Regions from separate parts of the Homo sapiens genome. Here regions 1, 3 and 4 are each linked to region 2. The links are contacts of gene promoters, found by promoter capture Hi-C in human tissues and cell types (Jung and others, 2019). All regions are on one chromosome and are shown on one strand. Each heading gives the region's core, a stretch centred on a gene start or on the middle of the fragment in contact. The rest is flanking DNA. Distances are from core to core; before and after follow the strand shown. Region 1 overlaps TLN2 (talin 2). Region 2 holds the start of APH1B (aph-1B gamma-secretase subunit). Region 3 overlaps HERC1 (HECT and RLD domain containing E3 ubiquitin protein ligase family member 1). Region 4 overlaps HERC1 (HECT and RLD domain containing E3 ubiquitin protein ligase family member 1).

Region 1 (3,817 bases), core at 874-3,373, 450 kb after region 2:
GCAGCTTCCAAGATCTGTTCCTCAAAGTCCAGGGTCTCATCCGCTTGCTATAACCAAAAGAAAACAGCATCACATTCAATTCATATCCACAAAGGGCTCTTTCTTCCAAACTACTTACTGCCGGGTCACCTGGCTCTTCACCTGCCTATTGTTTTTTGTTGACAAACCACACCTGAAATGGGATGGTTCCTTAACAAGAAGCAGATGACAGGTCCCCTGTGCAAACTTTCAGGACTCTTAAGTCAGTTTGGTTAAGCCACCCTCGGGTCACAGTGTGGAAGATGTGGCTGGTACCTTTCAGGCATTAAGAGACAATGGCCAGGCACAGCAATAGTTTTCTTTGTATGTGTGGTACAATATATATAACACAAAATTTACCCTTTTACCTAATGTTAAGTATTAATACACTGACACTGTTGTACAACAGCAATACCAGGATAGAAAGGTCAGGATGCCTCTCCACCTGCAGCCCCTTCCCCCTAACTCCAAAAGGAAAAAGCCGTTAGCTTGACATCCCACGGAAATTTGCAGACAGACTCATTTTCTGGAACAAAATCTTTAAAGATATACACTCACTGTGAACAAAATACACTCAAATGGTTTTAGCAACATCAATAACTGAAACCAAAATAATAAAATCAAAACAGTAGATCATAGCACTTACTCTCTTCTAGAGCCTAAGCCTCAAAAATGGACTTTAAAAAAAAAAAAAGGAAAGATGGCTACCAGTTCTGAAAAGTTGTCTTTTTCCTGGGTAAAAATCAAAGCCAAACAGCACTGGCATTTCTGTGGCTGAGCACTGAGAGAGTTATAGACCAAGCACACATTGCCCAGTGGTGAAAAAGAAACCAGGGCAACACGACATCAAGGTGGAGCTTGTTCTGTCCTCTGGACACCCGAGGCACGGGATCCACCTTGGGAAGAACACTGGACACCACTGTGTAGGTGTTATCAGACCATTAGGGTTCTGGTCTAAATTCACCACCATCTCCTTTGCTGCTAAAACAACTCAGGAAGTTGAAAAGAAGCTTTGGAGAAGTGGAACAAGTATAAAGACTGTGGTCCCAGGCTCATGGGTTGGAGCATCACAGTTTTGCCGGGGGGTGGTCAGATTAGACCTGTGTGACAACATTCCGTGACTCTAGGTCAATTTGGTTAAGCTGCCCTCAGGTCACACAGTGTTGAAGATGTGGGTGGTACCTTTCAGGCATTGAGAGATGATGGCCAGGCCCAGCAATACTTTTCTCTGTATGTGTGGTAAAATATATGTAACACAAAACTTACCCTTTTATCCAATTTTAAGTGTACAATTCAGTGGCATTACGGACATTCACACTTTGTGCCAACAGTAGTAGATTTTTAAGAGTGCCTACTGTGTACCAAGTATTTTGTTAGGCACTTCTACATACAATGACTTAATTCTCACCAAAAAAAAAAAAAAAGATCGTATATTGGAATTATCTTTATCCTTATTTTTACAGTGAGAAAACCCAGGCTCAGGAAGGTAGATGATTGGGCCAAGGTGATGTGGCAGCATGAAGCATCTAAACCAGAATCTAAACCTAAATCTGACTCCAAAATGAGGCACTTTAACTAGCCAAAGCCACCCCTTGGGGCATCAGTGAGAAACGGTTTGTGCCAGAGGTTCAAAGTCAGCTTGCTAACGCTCCCATGTGAAACGTCAGACAGGAGGGATACAAGTCTTCTCCAGCTCTCCATTCATAATGCCACATCTTGAACCATGAAAGGTGCTAATCCTTTTTCTTTATAACCTACATTATCAAAATACAATTTCAATGCACTTCTAATGGATCTGAATGATGGTAGCATTTCAGAAGTTCTGAGACAGACTTGTGCATTCTTTCTTATTGCTGACCAAGTCTTGCTCTAAGAGTATTCAGGACAGACATGAATTTAGTTCTACTGGACTCATTTTGGACTGGTGGAGTATAGAATTTGGTGACTGAAATACGGAAATGATCCATTGTAAGACACTCTCGTATAAAAGGAACTCTTGTGTAGTCAGTCCCCAAATAAATTATAGTAGGCTCTAATTTATATATATTAAATATATAAATAATGTATATTTTAATAACCGTGAGATTAAGAGCTTTTCTGGAAATTCATTCTGCCAAAGAATGTCAGGCACATAACAGATTAAAGCACCAGGGAAATCACAGAATTTTTGACTCCAAACTCCTCATCTCATTTTGCAGATGAGGAAACGGAGGCTTGTGGGAGCTCTTCATGGCGGCTCCTGAAGTCTCTCACGCTCTTGCCTCAGGTGTCCTCAGCTACTCTATGGGTTCCACGCCCGAGTCCACTTTACAGTGTGGAATACTCTGTCAGACTTTTTATTTCCCAAATTTTAAGATTTTCAAAAATGGAATTTCTTTAAAATTAAGTGCTACGTCTTTAGCAGGGGTAGATCTGATAGGATCATCTCATCACAACTGATTTTACGAGCCTCTCCCACATCTTCCGCTGCCTGGAGTTTTTTTTTTTTTTAAACACAAGCTTGTAATAATAGATATTCAACTTGGAAATATTTTTGACACCCACAGATTTTTCTGGTAATGGCAACTGTTGTAATGTTCTTTGACGAATTTTTATTTTTCTTCCCACAACATCTCTATGCTTTAAAACAGATACGGCAGAAGTTCTTATCTCTGGGAGACATTTGCTCTGATAAGAAAGTATTAAGATTCTCCCTAGAAAGGCTGACTGGGATGGCACAGGGATGGAGGGCTAATGTTAGATACTACAGTTTGGGCAGAGTACCCTGATGAAACCTGCCTTCTGACTGCTGTGTCCCTATTTTCCTGTATGCCAGGTTTATGACTAAGACGCACTGCCCACCCTACCTCTACTGCTGAAATCAGACACCAATACTTAACGTGTCCTCATACCATACAACTTCTAGCCTTAGAGAAAATGGCATCTCTCCAAGCCAAGGAGACATGGTCAAAAACCCAGGTGCCCCATCAGTTCCAGCTCCCATTAGCATGCAGAATGGAATAGGGGAGAAGGTAGGAAGGACACACACTTAACCATATCACAAGAAGGAAACAGAATTGGCTTGGTCTTCAAAGGACTTTCCTAAATAAAAGAATCCCAATTAAAATGCAGAATTTGTTAATGGAACAGTCCCCACTGCAGCTGAGAGACTGGGGAGACTAAGAAGAACAACATGGTGCACAGTGACTCCGGGGAAGAATCTGCAGGCTGGGCCCTCTCCTGGAGCTCTCATTCTCACCTTCTCACCAGAGAGGCTCACCTGGTTGGTGTCTTAAGGCCCTCTTTAGCTGAGATGTTACTGACCTGACCAGGGTCAGTCAGATCTCTCCTTCTGGTTTATAAAGGGGATAACGGAATCCTCGCTTCTGGGTGTTTCATTCTTTCCACAATTGGATCATGTAAAGACCCGCTAAAATAATCTTTTAAAGATTATGACTAATCCTGTGCATGTGGCTATTTATGTTTCTCTATAACTACTGGCATCAAGCTAAAGCAAGGAACTTTAGAAAACAATTTCATTAAACAGGATAAATTGATAGTCTTTAGCCATAAAAAAGAGTGAGATCCTGCCATTTGCAACCACATGGCTAGAACTGGAGATCCTTATGTTAAGTGAAATAAGCCAGGCACAGAAAGACAAACATTGTATGTTCCCACTTATTTGTGGGATCCAGAAATCAAAACAATTGAACTCATGGACATAGAGAGTAGAAGGATGGCTCCCAGAGGCTGGGAAGGGTAGTGAGGGGCTGGGAGGTAGGGATGGTTCATGGGTACAAAAAAATAGAATAAGACCTAC
Region 2 (3,651 bases), core at 587-3,086:
GTACTATGTAGGAGGGCATAGATACAATACTATATTCACGTTTCAAATGACCAAATCATAACTAAAATCTAACTGGGGAAAAAAAAGGTAAGGCAGGTATTTAACTTACTTTAAGAGTTTATAATATGCAAATCGGAACATTTCTTGGATATAGACAGAGACAAACGCTCCAAAGATCAGCAGATATTTCTGTGTTGGTCCATCTTTGTTGTCAATAATGACTCTTGCCATGAACCAAACAAGGGACGAAATCAGTAGAGACACCAACCAGAAGAAAGCTCTGAAAAATACGGGAAAAAAAGTTACAAGTGAACATCAGTACAGGATTAATAATGTTTAAAAGCAGGAAAAAAAAAAAAACCTGCTTGAGAAGGAAGAGATTTCTTGACGTTTCAATAAGGAAAAGAAAGTCCTCATAAAGTGATACTCTGATCAGTTGTTCTTAACGGTGCATTTTCCTTGGTGAGACAAACGTGTCCAAGAGGAAGGCTGAGGTTTCCCAACAATTACTTTTTTCAATGACCCTGCTACTTGCAAGTACATCTGCAGACTCTATCTGCCAAGGACTATCTAGCTAGAAACTTGGTTATTTGCTACTCTTTCTAATCAATGCTCTGCCCATTGATGAGCCAAAACAAGAAAATACACAACCCTGATTACTGCAATTTTCATATTCTTAAAACTTACAAGAAATTATGGATTTACTGATCAGATATCTGCAAAGATGAGTATCTTTTCCAGAAAAATATCTACATCTCTATTAATAAAGTGACTGGTATAAAATTCAACTTGAAAACCTGTGTTCTGATCTGGATCAGTATCCAAGCCCTCCAGGTCTTACAGCACCCCTGGGGATTCTAATGATTATAGCAAGCTTTACAGACCCTTCCCAAATCTCTATTATTTTTAAAATGACATGCAGCGAAGCACTTTCAATACGTTTGTGGGAGGTGAAGAAACGCAGAAAAGCGGGAATCATTGGCCTAGTCTGGTGCCAAGAGAGACTCATCAGAGGAGGGGGGATGTGGTATGTGCAAGTAAGAGGCAGGTGATGACTGCGATGGGACACCAGAGTCCGGTATTTACCAAGCTCCCAGAAGGAGACGCACAGTCAGGTGCTTCGGTGTTTTTACAGGTTTCCACCCTTCGGCTGCACAACGGAACCATCCAAAAGGAGCTTAAATTTTTTTTTTTTTTTCTGAAGCCCGAATCCCATCCCCTAGACATTCTGATTCAATGGATCGGGGTGGGGGTGGGCATCGGCATGTTTTAAAGCACCTGGCCACAGGTGATTCTAATAGGCGGAAGTCGCGCACTACTATCCTAAACGCCAATGGTTTTTAACCCTTTGGGGATTACACATGCCTTTGAGAATCTGAGGGAAATTAGGGACTCCCCCTCCAGAAAATGAAGGATGCATATATGAACTTATCCATAATTTTTTTATACAACTTTAGTAGCTTCACGGATCACTAAACCCCACCCATGAGCCCCAGGCAAAAGGCCCTGACCCCCAGTGTGCGCTTCTTCCTAAGAGGGCGAGGCGCCTTTGGGGAGCCGGATCTCCGCTCTCCCCCTCTCAACCCTCCTCCCGTCTGAAACGCAACAAGGTCGAGCCGCGCGGTGGGGGCGCCGAGGGTCGCGGGTAACCCCAGCGGGGGAGGGGAGCCCCGGCGTCCGGGTTTCCCGACGCGACCGCCTCACCCGGCGATGAGGAAGATGATACGCAACGGCTCGGTGGCGATGGTGAAGACATAAAGGGCGAGCGCAGGCCCGAAGGCAATGAAGGCGCAGCCGAAGAACACGGCCGCAGTCATGGCCACCGCGGAAACCGACCCGGGGGCCCGTTGGGGACGCGAGATGCTCCCGGCGCGGGCGGGGTTCGGTGGGTGGGGCTCGGGGTGGGGGGCTAAGCGGGACGCGGGGGGCGGGGCGCGGCTCATGGGCAGGCACGGGGACGGGGGCGGGGCTCGGGGGCGGGGCACGTGGGGGCGGGGGCGGGGCTCGGAGGCGGGGTACGTGGGTCGCGGGGCGAGGCGGGGCGTGGGGGTAAACGCTAGGGCCTGGGGGACTGGGCGGGGCGTGGGCTGAGGGCGCCGGGCGCAGGGGCGGGCTCAAGGCGGTGAGCGCGGACCCCACCGTTGGGCCCTCCGCCCTACCGGGTGTCCGGAAGCGCCAGGGCCACGCCGCAGCTCCTGCTCCCGAGGCGGGCGTCCTCGGCGACGTTAGGGCCCCAGCCATCGCCGCAGCCCCACAGATACACTCCGATCGGGTTCCAGTGCCGGCCGCGAGGTGGTTAAGAGAAGGGAAGCTCCCTAGCCCACCTTCGAGCCGCATGCACCGAGAACAGGCAGAGATTCCAAGTCAACCAAAGAGACTAAACAAAAATGTAGCGCAGGAACAAGCAGGATTCCTTTTTAAATAGGTTTTTTTTTTTTTTTAAGCACATTTTACCGTTTGGATAGTTGCGGGAACTTCGTACTCCATCCTGTATAAAACCTAGGCTGGGATAGCAGTGACCCCGGGGATAACCCACAGATGGTAAAATGATGAAAGAGTGGTGGAAGAAGCTGCCCTTCTCAGGGCTGTTTCAGCCAAATGGTTTTTATTTTTTTCCCAATTCTTCAAAAGGGTTGTTTTTGCAGGCATTCTGTGACCACCCTACAAGCAATAGTAACATCTCCCTGCTCCGTCTTCTCACAGTCGTCCATTTCACTTGCTTATTTTTCTTCCCCGTTAAAACGCGAACTCCTGGGGGACAGGGACTTTGCTTTGCTCTTTGTTGTTTCCTCAGCACCTAGAAGTTCACTAATATCTGTTCAATAAGTGAAATAATTTAAAAGGTGGAAGTTATAAACATCTATATTAACAATTTCTGAAAGGTTTAAAAATTAAAACTTAAGTTCTCTGATCATTCACATCCAAGTTAGATTTTTCTTTATGTTGAATAATACTTCGTCGGTTATTTTGATCAGTGTGCCTGACACAGGTAAGTGCTATGTAAGTATTAACCACTCCTACATAATGTCCATCATGAATAAAGATTTTGGCAATCCACATTTAAAAAAACACCAGTAGACAAATGTTGGGACCTGACAGATGTTTTGCAGCTCGCCCCTGAAAATGCACCTTCAAATAATACAACTGCAGGTATTTAATTCTTACAGAAAAACATTACCTTTGCCCATTTAAAAGTCATATATATTTCCATTCACTCCCACAGAATACTTCTTCAGATTCCAGTGATTGTATTTTGAATGGTCAGATCCCAGCACAATACCTATCAAAACTCGGGTCGAGACAACAGTTCAGAGTGATAGATCTGCTTTGTAAAGATATGGAAAATGAGCTTCCAGACTGGAGGTCCTCAGTGCAACGCAGGCATGAGATGGCAGTGGCCTGATTCAGGGAATTAGCAGGACTCTGGAGGGAAGCAGACAAATTTAATAGAAGTTTAGGAATTGTACAAACAGAATTTAGTGACTAATGAGCTACATAGAGTGAGATGGGGGAAGAGTCAAGGATGAGGGCTTCTAGAGGGTTCGGGCTTAAGTGGATGCTGTGGAGACAGGAGGAGGAGAGAATATGGCAAAGTAGACACGATAATGAGTACCATTTTGTTATTTTGTTGTTACTGTTTTGGAGACATAG
Region 3 (4,107 bases), core at 1,534-4,033, 400 kb before region 2:
TTTTTAAAAATCATTTGTTATTTTTATCTAGACCTTTTTGTCCAGAAGGGTTGGATGCAAGAGGAAGAGTTTTCACACAAAAACATTTGCATACAACTTAACCAGAAAGGTTAGGAATTGGCCAGGACAAAATTTCAGTTACAGTTTATTTTTTTCAAAATAGGTTTATAAAACCTTCTACATCTTTCGTCCTAATCATTTATCCAGTGGGCAGTCTGGAAAAGATCAGTTTCTTTCTGGGAACAGTTTTATTTAGTAAACTGCTTTATTGGTGTGTCTTGTTTATCAGGAGAAAGGTGAGGGATGTAGAGTCAATTGATCAGTCCCTTGTTGCAAACTGCAACTATTCTAGAAAGCTTAACATGTTGGGACATCACCTAGAGGGTATTGAGAATACAATCTCTTAAAGAGTGTTTGGAAGTATATTGCCCCCAGAAAACACACTCTTTTCGTGGATACCTGCAAGAAACCTGGACAGTCCAGCCAGCATCCAAGATGTTTTTCAGACTTTGTGGCCCCACAGAGGGGGAGTGTTCCAAATCCACAACAGTCCCAGATTTTGAGTTTTGTTCATTCAGCTTGTGCCTGCTTTTAGCTGAGCACAACTCACTTGGGTTGAAATAACCTAGAGCACACAGTGTCAGGTTTTAGCTTATAGTCAGGTCCAGGCAATTAGAATGTGTGAGTTCAGGATTCCAAGCCAGCAGCTTTTTGGGGCAGCAGTTAAATCTAGATGGGGCCAGTTATGGGGGCATGTGCCTATACAGTCCCAGTACTTGGAAGGCAGAGGCTGGAGGATTGCTTGAGCCCAGGAGTTTGAAGCCACAGTGAGCTCTGTTTACACTACTGCATGCCAGCCTGGGTAACAGAAAGAGACCCTATCTCTTAAAAACAAAAACAAACCTTAGATGGTGTAGGACCTGACAATAGTGTTTTAAGTCCAGGCTTGAAAACAAGGCTTTTCTAAGCTCTGTTTGCTTGTCAATCTTGGAGTCCAGATTGACCCACTCAGAAATATGTACTTAGGCTAGAAAGTCATCAGCCTGTAAGTGTTAGACATATGATTTTATAAGAACTCGTTAGCCACTGAATGTTTTTTAAAACTCTAAAAGCATATGTCTATATCTCCATCTAGAGCTTGCCTCTCTTTTATTTTATCTCTGTTTTCCCAGAGACTCCAATAGGAAAAAATCATAGCAAAAACCCACCAGTTATAGACACTTGTTTTGTTTTTAATATAGAGTTTAAATTCCAATCCACCCACTGGTGACAAAAAGCAAGTAAGTTGTGTCCCACTAGTATGTTTTTCTTTTGGAGCTTTCCCTGATCAGGATGAAACTTTAGCATTTATGAAGTTACAAGCTTGTAACATTTTGCATCTTAATTTTTTTTCTTTCTTTTTTTTTTTTTTTTTTTGAGACAGAGTGTAGCTCTGTTGCCCAGGCTGGAGTGCAGTGGCACAAGCTCGGCTCCCTGCAACCTCCACCTGCCAGTTTCAAGGGATTCTCCCGCCTCAGCCTCCCGAATAGGTGAGACTGGAGGCACGCATCAGCATGCCTGGCTAATTTTTGTGTTTTTAGTAGATATAAGGTTTCACCATGTTGGCCAGGCTGGACTTGAACTCCCAACCTCAAGTGATCTGCCTGCCTCGGCCTCCCAAAATGCTGAAATAACAGGCATGAGCCATTGTGCCCAGCCTTTGCATCTTTTTTTTTTTTAATCATACATCCAGATGTAGTTGCCACAAAATAAAGCTGTTTTTAAAAGTTTTCTTCCTCCCTTCTCACATCTTAAGTTTACTCAAACCTCTAGCAATAAATTTAGCATTTACAAGGTAAATTGTGGCAGGGGGAGAACCTGCTGTAGCAATAGCAAAAGCTCAGCTTAAGAAAATAGCTGGAGTAGTTCCTTTCTATTCTTGTTTGTTTGTTTTTGTATATTTTGTAGAGATGGGGTTCTTGCTTTCTTGCCCAAGGTAGTCTCAAACTCCTGGCTTCAAGCAGTCCTCCCTCCTTAGCCTCCCAAAGTGCTAAGATTACAGGTGTGAGCCCCTGCACCCACACTCAAAGCTGTCAGGGGTTTTTGAACCCTTTCCCCTCCCACTGGAGGAGAGAGCAACTACAAGCTAATTTTTCTACTCTGGCTCATCTAAAGCCCACTTGTGGGAATATTTGGGCCCTTTCTCCTCAGGAAAGAAGTTGTTCCTGGAAGAAAGAACAGCACAGTTTTTACCTGAGCTGCTCTTTTTTCCTAACTTTAGCTAGCAAGGCCAAGAGCGTCTGGGGTAGCAAACCAACTCTCTTGTGATTGGATTTATCTTAAAAATTGATAGGTAACTTTTGCCCCTCACAACAGATAGCAGTCCACCTTCTGTTTCATACTATGTGTAACTCCATAGCCACCTAGGTACCAGAGTTTTATCTTTTCCTTTCGTCTCTTTCTTTTTCCCCAGCAATATTTAACTATATTCTAATGCATCAGGGTTGTTCTAGTGAATCTCATTGCTGCCACTGCTAAGTCATGAGTCCCCAAGACCACCCTCACATTCAGAGATTCACTAGAAGGACTCGTCAGACTCCACACGTTGATACACTCATGACGGAGACTTATATTATAATGATGCGGTAAGGATATACACCCAGTTAATAAGGGAAGGACACAGGTGAGGTATAGAAGAATCCTGTAGGCTTCCTTCTGTTCTCTCCCTGCCATGAGCACAAGTGCACAAGCTTTCCCCAGCAAGAAAAATAACATGTGTGTGATGTTTCTAGAGAACCCCATTAGAGATTCAGAACCCAAGGTTTTTACTGGGGGCTGGTCACGTAGACACCTTCAACCTGACATGTACCAACATTTCATACTCCCAGAAGGAGAGCAGGTATTCAGCATAAACCACATTGTGTGTTTAAATGTTCTAGGTCAGTGAGCCACCTTTATCACGTAGGGGAAGTTTTTTTTTTTTTAAATCAGTGTAAGAAACTTTACCAGTCAAATTCCCAGGTCCTAGCCAAAGGCCAGTGTTGCAAGCATGCCTTTTTGAAAATAGTAATAGTCACACTAGGTGTAGTGGCTGATGCCTATAATCCCAACACTTTGGGAGGCCGAGGTGGGAGGATTGCTTGAGGCCAGGAGTTCAAGACCAGACTGTGTAACATAACAAGACCTCATCTCTACAAAAAATAACTAGCCAGGCATGATGGTGTACACCTGTAGTCCTAGTTACTCAGGAGACTGAGGCAGGAGAATTGCTTGAGCCCAGGAATTTGACGCTTCAGTGAGCCATGATCATGCTACTGTACTCCAGCCTGGGAAACAGAGTGAGACCCCATCTCTTTAGAAAATTAAAAACAAAACAAAACAAAACAAAACAAAACAATACACCTAGTCTCAGGCTTAATATATTAACTCTTTTTCTAAACAGAGGTATATGCAAGAGAGTAGTTAAAATCTATATGTAAAGAATTAAAGTTTTCATTAATTTCTGGACTAAACATACTTCCTCAGCTTCATTATTAAGTTGTAAGTTAGAATTGCTTATTTTAAATACTATAGATATTCAAAGGTTATTCTAAATGCCCTGCAAGATAAAGAATGTTTTAAAATCTTTCTAAATTGATGCGATTATTTTCGTGTTATTTTTATTTATGCTGAAAATAACATGTTTCCATAAATGCATTAGTATTATTTATAAACATATTTTCAGTATTGGTTAATGCAGTTAATAGTATATAAATAGATTTTTTGAGTATTAATGAATATCCCACTTTTATTTTAGTTTTATATTGTGAAGGAAAACAGAGGTAATGAAGGCACGTGTGTTGGAGTTTCTCGCTGGCCAGTACATGACTTTAATCACCGCACTACCTCGGATATGTGGCTCTATAGGGCCTACAGTGGTAACCTCTATCACAATGGAGAACAGACTCTCACATTGTCCAGCTTTACTCAAGGAGATTTCATTACCTGTGTGTTAGACATGGAAGCCAGGACCATTTCTTTTGGGAAAAATGGAGAGGTACCGACACCCATTCACAAGCATTACATTTTTCTTGTTTCTATTTATAGTCAACTCGGTTATTCAAGTGCCACGTATTCAGTTTATAGATT
Region 4 (4,103 bases), core at 1,225-3,724, 340 kb before region 2:
CAACAAAAGCCAAAATTGACAAATGGGATCTAATTAAACTAAAGAGCTTCTGCACAGCAAAAGAAACTACCATCAGAGTGAACAGGCGACCCACAGAATGGGAGAAAATTTTTGCAACCTACTCATCTGACAAAGGGCTAATATCCAGAATCTACAATGAACTCCAACACATTTACAAGAAAAAAACAACCCCATCAAAAAGTGGGCGAAAGATATGAACAGACACTTCTCAAAAGAAGACATTTATGCAGCCAAAAGACACATGAAAAAATGCTCATCATCACTGGCCATCAGAGAAATGCAAATCAAAACCACAATGAAATACCATCTCACACCAATTAGAATGGCGATCATTAAGAAGTCAGGAAACAACAGGTGCTGGAGAGAATGTGGAGAAATAGGAACACTTTTACACTGTTGGTGGGACTGTAAACTAGTTCAACCATTGTGGAAGTCAGTGTGGTGATTCCTCATGGATCTAGAACTAGAAATACCATTTGACCCAGCCATCCCATTACTGGGTATATACCCAAAGGATTATAAAACATTCTGCTATAAGGACACATGCACACGTATGTTTATTGCGGCACTATTCATAATAGGAAAGACTTGGAACCAACCCAAATGTCCAACAATGATAGACTGGATTAAGAAAATGTGGCACTTATACACCATGGAATACTATGCAGCCATAAAAAATGATGAGTTCATGTCATGTAGGGACATGAATGAAGCTGGAAACCATCATTCTCAGCAAACTATTGCAAGGACAAAAAACCAAACACTTCGTGTTCTCACTCATAGGTGGGAATTGAACAATGAGAACACATGGACACAGGAAGGGGAACATCACACACTGGGGCCTGTTGTGGGGTGAGGGGAGCGGGGAGGGATAGCATTAGGAGATATACCTAATGTTAAATGAAGAGTTAATGGGTGCAGCACACCAACATGGCACATGTATACATATGTAACAAACCTGCACGTTGTGCACATGTACCCTAAAACTTAAAGTATAATAATAAAAAAAAAAAAAGATAATGATTTTAGAAAACAAGGCATTCTGGAGCAGGTAGCTTAAGATCCTTACATAGTTCTTCTAAAAATAGTTCAGAATATAGTCCATGTGCTGTGTGAAACAATAACTACGGTCCACATGTGGCTTTTGAGAACTCAACGTGTGATTAGGGAAGCCGAAGAACTGAATTTTTAGTTTTATTTAATTACTTTAGCCTTATGTGGCTAATGGATGCCATATTGAACAGTACAGGTATAGACTAACGCTATAGCTGTTGTTGCTAACTTATTTCTAATAGAAATAAGGAAAATGCTGTTTGAAATATTCCCTTTAATTTTACAGGTTCCTTTTTAACCCTTCTGCCTGCCTCGATGAACACTTAATGCAGTTTAAGTTTTTAGGAATTTTAATGGGGGTTGCCATTCGCACAAAGAAGCCTCTGGACCTCCACTTGGCCCCTCTGGTGTGGAAGCAGCTGTGCTGTGTCCCACTCACCCTAGAGGACCTGGAGGAGGTGGATCTGCTCTACGTGCAGACTCTCAACAGCATTCTTCACATTGAAGACAGTGGGATTACCGAGGAGAGTTTCCATGAGGTAAATCCTGGCCAGTCTATGTTTCTACTGGTGTTGACGTCCTATATGCACAGACTAGAATTTTTCTGTGTAAAATTGAGATACAGTCTTCCACTTGCTGTCTGGCTGAACAATGCCATATCTATGCCATTGCTGCCCTTAGCAGCTCAACCGCAGCAGTTTAAACAGCTTCTAATAGAGCAGGCTCCTGCACTTAGTTGCTCCTTCCCCCTTAATTTTTTTCTGCCTGTTAGAGTGAAGAACCAAGGTGGAAGGGGAGGCCTGAGGTCACGAGAGTTCAACAGGCTTGGTTTGTGAACAGAGAGATTTTGTCCCATTTTTAACTACAGCTGGTTGAGTCATCACATTCCTGCTGATCAAGTAGCCTGATCAGTCCTACCTGTTTTGTGTTCCTTGTTTTTATCCTTAAAAATTGTGAGTTTGTTATTGCTGTGCCGTATTTGTATGTAAAATACTTTTTGCTGTCATTTCTACCATGTAATAAAAATTCTGTTTTCTTCTGTTCCTAGATGATTCCTCTTGATTCTTTTGTTGGCCAGAGTGCTGATGGCAAAATGGTTCCTATAATCCCTGGTGGAAATAGTATCCCACTCACATTTTCCAACAGGAAGGAATATGTGGAGAGGGCCATTGAATATCGACTTCATGAGATGGACAGACAGGTGAGATGAAACATCTCGGGAGGTACACATGAATGCTTGGGTTTCTCTCCAAATGAGAGCTGACTGGGTATGCCAAAATCTGCTAATATGTATTTACTGTGTTAATTCCTCTGTATGTATGTATGAATTTATTTATTTTAATTTACTTATTTATTTTTGAGACAGCACCTCACTCTGTCGCCTAGGCTGGAGTGCAGTGGTTCAGTCTCAGCTCACTGCAGCCTCTGCCTCCTGGGTTCAAGTGATTCTCTGGCCTCAGCCTCCCCAGTAGCTGGGACTACAGGCATGTGTCACCACGCCTAGCTAATCTTTTTATTTTTTGGTAGAGATGGGGTTTTGCCATGTTAGCCAGGCTGGTCTTGAACTCCTGGCCTCAAGTGATCCACCTGCCTCAGCTTCCCAAAGTGTTGGGATTACAGGTGTGAGCCACCGCACTTGGTGATTCCTTTGTATTTATATTCCAAACCCTATTCAGAGACTTCTCAGGCCTTTTTCTCCATACCCAGTGCCTTAAATCGGTTCTGAATTGGTCTTTGGTTGGATTGAGACTGTTTTCATCTGGCATTCAGACCTTGCCTTCTTACTCCTCCTTACTCCTCCTTAGTCCTGTTTGTCCTCATGTCTTACTGCTTCCCAGCTCAGCGTCTCCACTCTAGTTGGGTTAGTCAGGGCCCACGTAAATGAACCTTCAAATGCTGGTCTTATGACCTCACATGGATTTCCCTTTCCCTGTCTTGCTGCTGTTCTTTAAGCCTCAGCTAAGAGGGCATCTCCTGCACACACAAGCTTACCTCCAGGTCACCAACCTGTGATCTTTTTCCTTACTTTGAAGTTCCTCAAGATATATCACATACTTCTATGTTATGGTCTAGGAAGTAGGCCCCAGAATTTAGGTCTTGTTTCCTCAACTTGCAAGAAATTGAATGAAGAATGCATTTTCTATTTCATTTGAGTTATCCTTGTTCTGTGCTGACAGGTAAGTAAGCATTTAATAATGGGAGTGTGAATGAGTGACCACTCATGTGGTCATAAATATGGTGTCCAAAAATGGTTCTTTTGATAATACAGTCATTAATAGCATTTCAGTAATACTTTATTTGCAGAATATGTTGGGGTCTTCTCAAGAGCTGGACTCAGGCTGTGAAGCTATAGAAGTTTAGTGATTTGAAGTATACATACTCCATACCCCTCACTCCCAGCTCCTTCTTAGACTTTGGGCCAAGTCCCATCAGAAAAATGATATCTTTAGCCTAGTGAAGTTGGGTCTTGTCAGTGATGCTATTTACACAGCCAGGGATTAGTGTTTGTCTCCAGTTGATGAATATTTTTAATCCTCAGAGAATAAATAACTGACTAGAAATGTATTGATAACCTTCTGCACGCCAGCCATGGTGCCAGGCACTCTTGGGTGCCATTTTTCCCATAGTTACTCTGTGAGGTAAGGATTGCCAGCTCTGTTTCACAGAAGAAAGCACTGAGTGCCCACAGCAGAGCCAAGACCCCAAACCAGGCTCTAAGATGGTGTCCAGGCTTTTCTGATGACCCTTCTTCTGAGGGTTGGATGGACACTCCCTTTCCACAGCTGTGTTCTGCTCTGCCCTGGCTTTGTTCTGTTCTCAGTAACAAGCCCTTCCTCCTCTTTCTTTATATATGAATTGGTCTTTGGTTCCTCTTCATCTCTTAGAACTGAGTGTTTATCCCATAACTGTCCTCAGTTGTCCCCCTGCCATCTCCAAGCAGCCAGCCCCATACCTCAGCCTAATTTTTTTTCCAGACAGCTTTTGTTTTGTGTTCCACCAAGCATAACAGCTTGTTCGTTTTTGTTTTC

What was found. The method cuts DNA at HindIII sites, captures the fragments that hold promoters and counts their contacts. A contact is called where the count stands out against the background at its distance.
Region 1: a contact is called between a fragment that was not itself captured here and the fragment with the promoter of APH1B in region 2, in 2 of the 25 tissues and cell types used here (dorsolateral prefrontal cortex and mesenchymal stem cells).
Region 3: a contact is called between a fragment that was not itself captured here and the fragment with the promoter of APH1B in region 2, in 2 of the 25 tissues and cell types used here (adrenal gland and aorta).
Region 4: a contact is called between a fragment that was not itself captured here and the fragment with the promoter of APH1B in region 2, in 1 of the 25 tissues and cell types used here (pancreas).

Annotation. Positions count from the first base shown.
Region 1 is chr15:62,829,734-62,833,550 of GRCh38, reverse strand. It overlaps TLN2 (talin 2), which reads right to left. Exons shown (of 59, transcript NM_015059.3): 55 at 1-47. It overlaps LOC105370854 (a long non-coding RNA gene), which reads left to right. Exons shown (of 7, transcript XR_007064671.1): 7 at 1-3,817. Among named protein-coding and RNA genes, the nearest start is that of MIR190A, 7.7 kb to the right of the region's middle. The HindIII fragment of the contact is 3,371 bases long and covers 438-3,808 here.
Region 2 is chr15:63,275,790-63,279,440 of GRCh38, reverse strand. It overlaps APH1B (aph-1B gamma-secretase subunit), which reads right to left and starts at 1,836. Exons shown (of 6, transcript NM_031301.4): 1 at 1,705-1,836; 2 at 110-280. The coding sequence starts at 1,817. LOC124903504 (a long non-coding RNA gene) reads right to left here. Exons shown (of 2, transcript XR_007064674.1): 2 at 2,589-3,423. RefSeq lists silencers at 1,530-1,809, 1,890-2,309. The HindIII fragment of the contact is 12,664 bases long and covers 1-3,651 here.
Region 3 is chr15:63,680,445-63,684,551 of GRCh38, reverse strand. HERC1 (HECT and RLD domain containing E3 ubiquitin protein ligase family member 1) reads left to right here. Exons shown (of 78, transcript NM_003922.4): 35 at 3,776-4,015. Among named protein-coding and RNA genes, the nearest start is that of USP3-AS1, 82 kb to the right of the region's middle. The HindIII fragment of the contact is 3,848 bases long and covers 860-4,107 here.
Region 4 is chr15:63,613,940-63,618,042 of GRCh38, reverse strand. HERC1 (HECT and RLD domain containing E3 ubiquitin protein ligase family member 1) reads left to right here. Exons shown (of 78, transcript NM_003922.4): 75 at 1,361-1,613; 76 at 2,123-2,275. Among named protein-coding and RNA genes, the nearest start is that of USP3-AS1, 15 kb to the right of the region's middle. The HindIII fragment of the contact is 3,211 bases long and covers 869-4,079 here.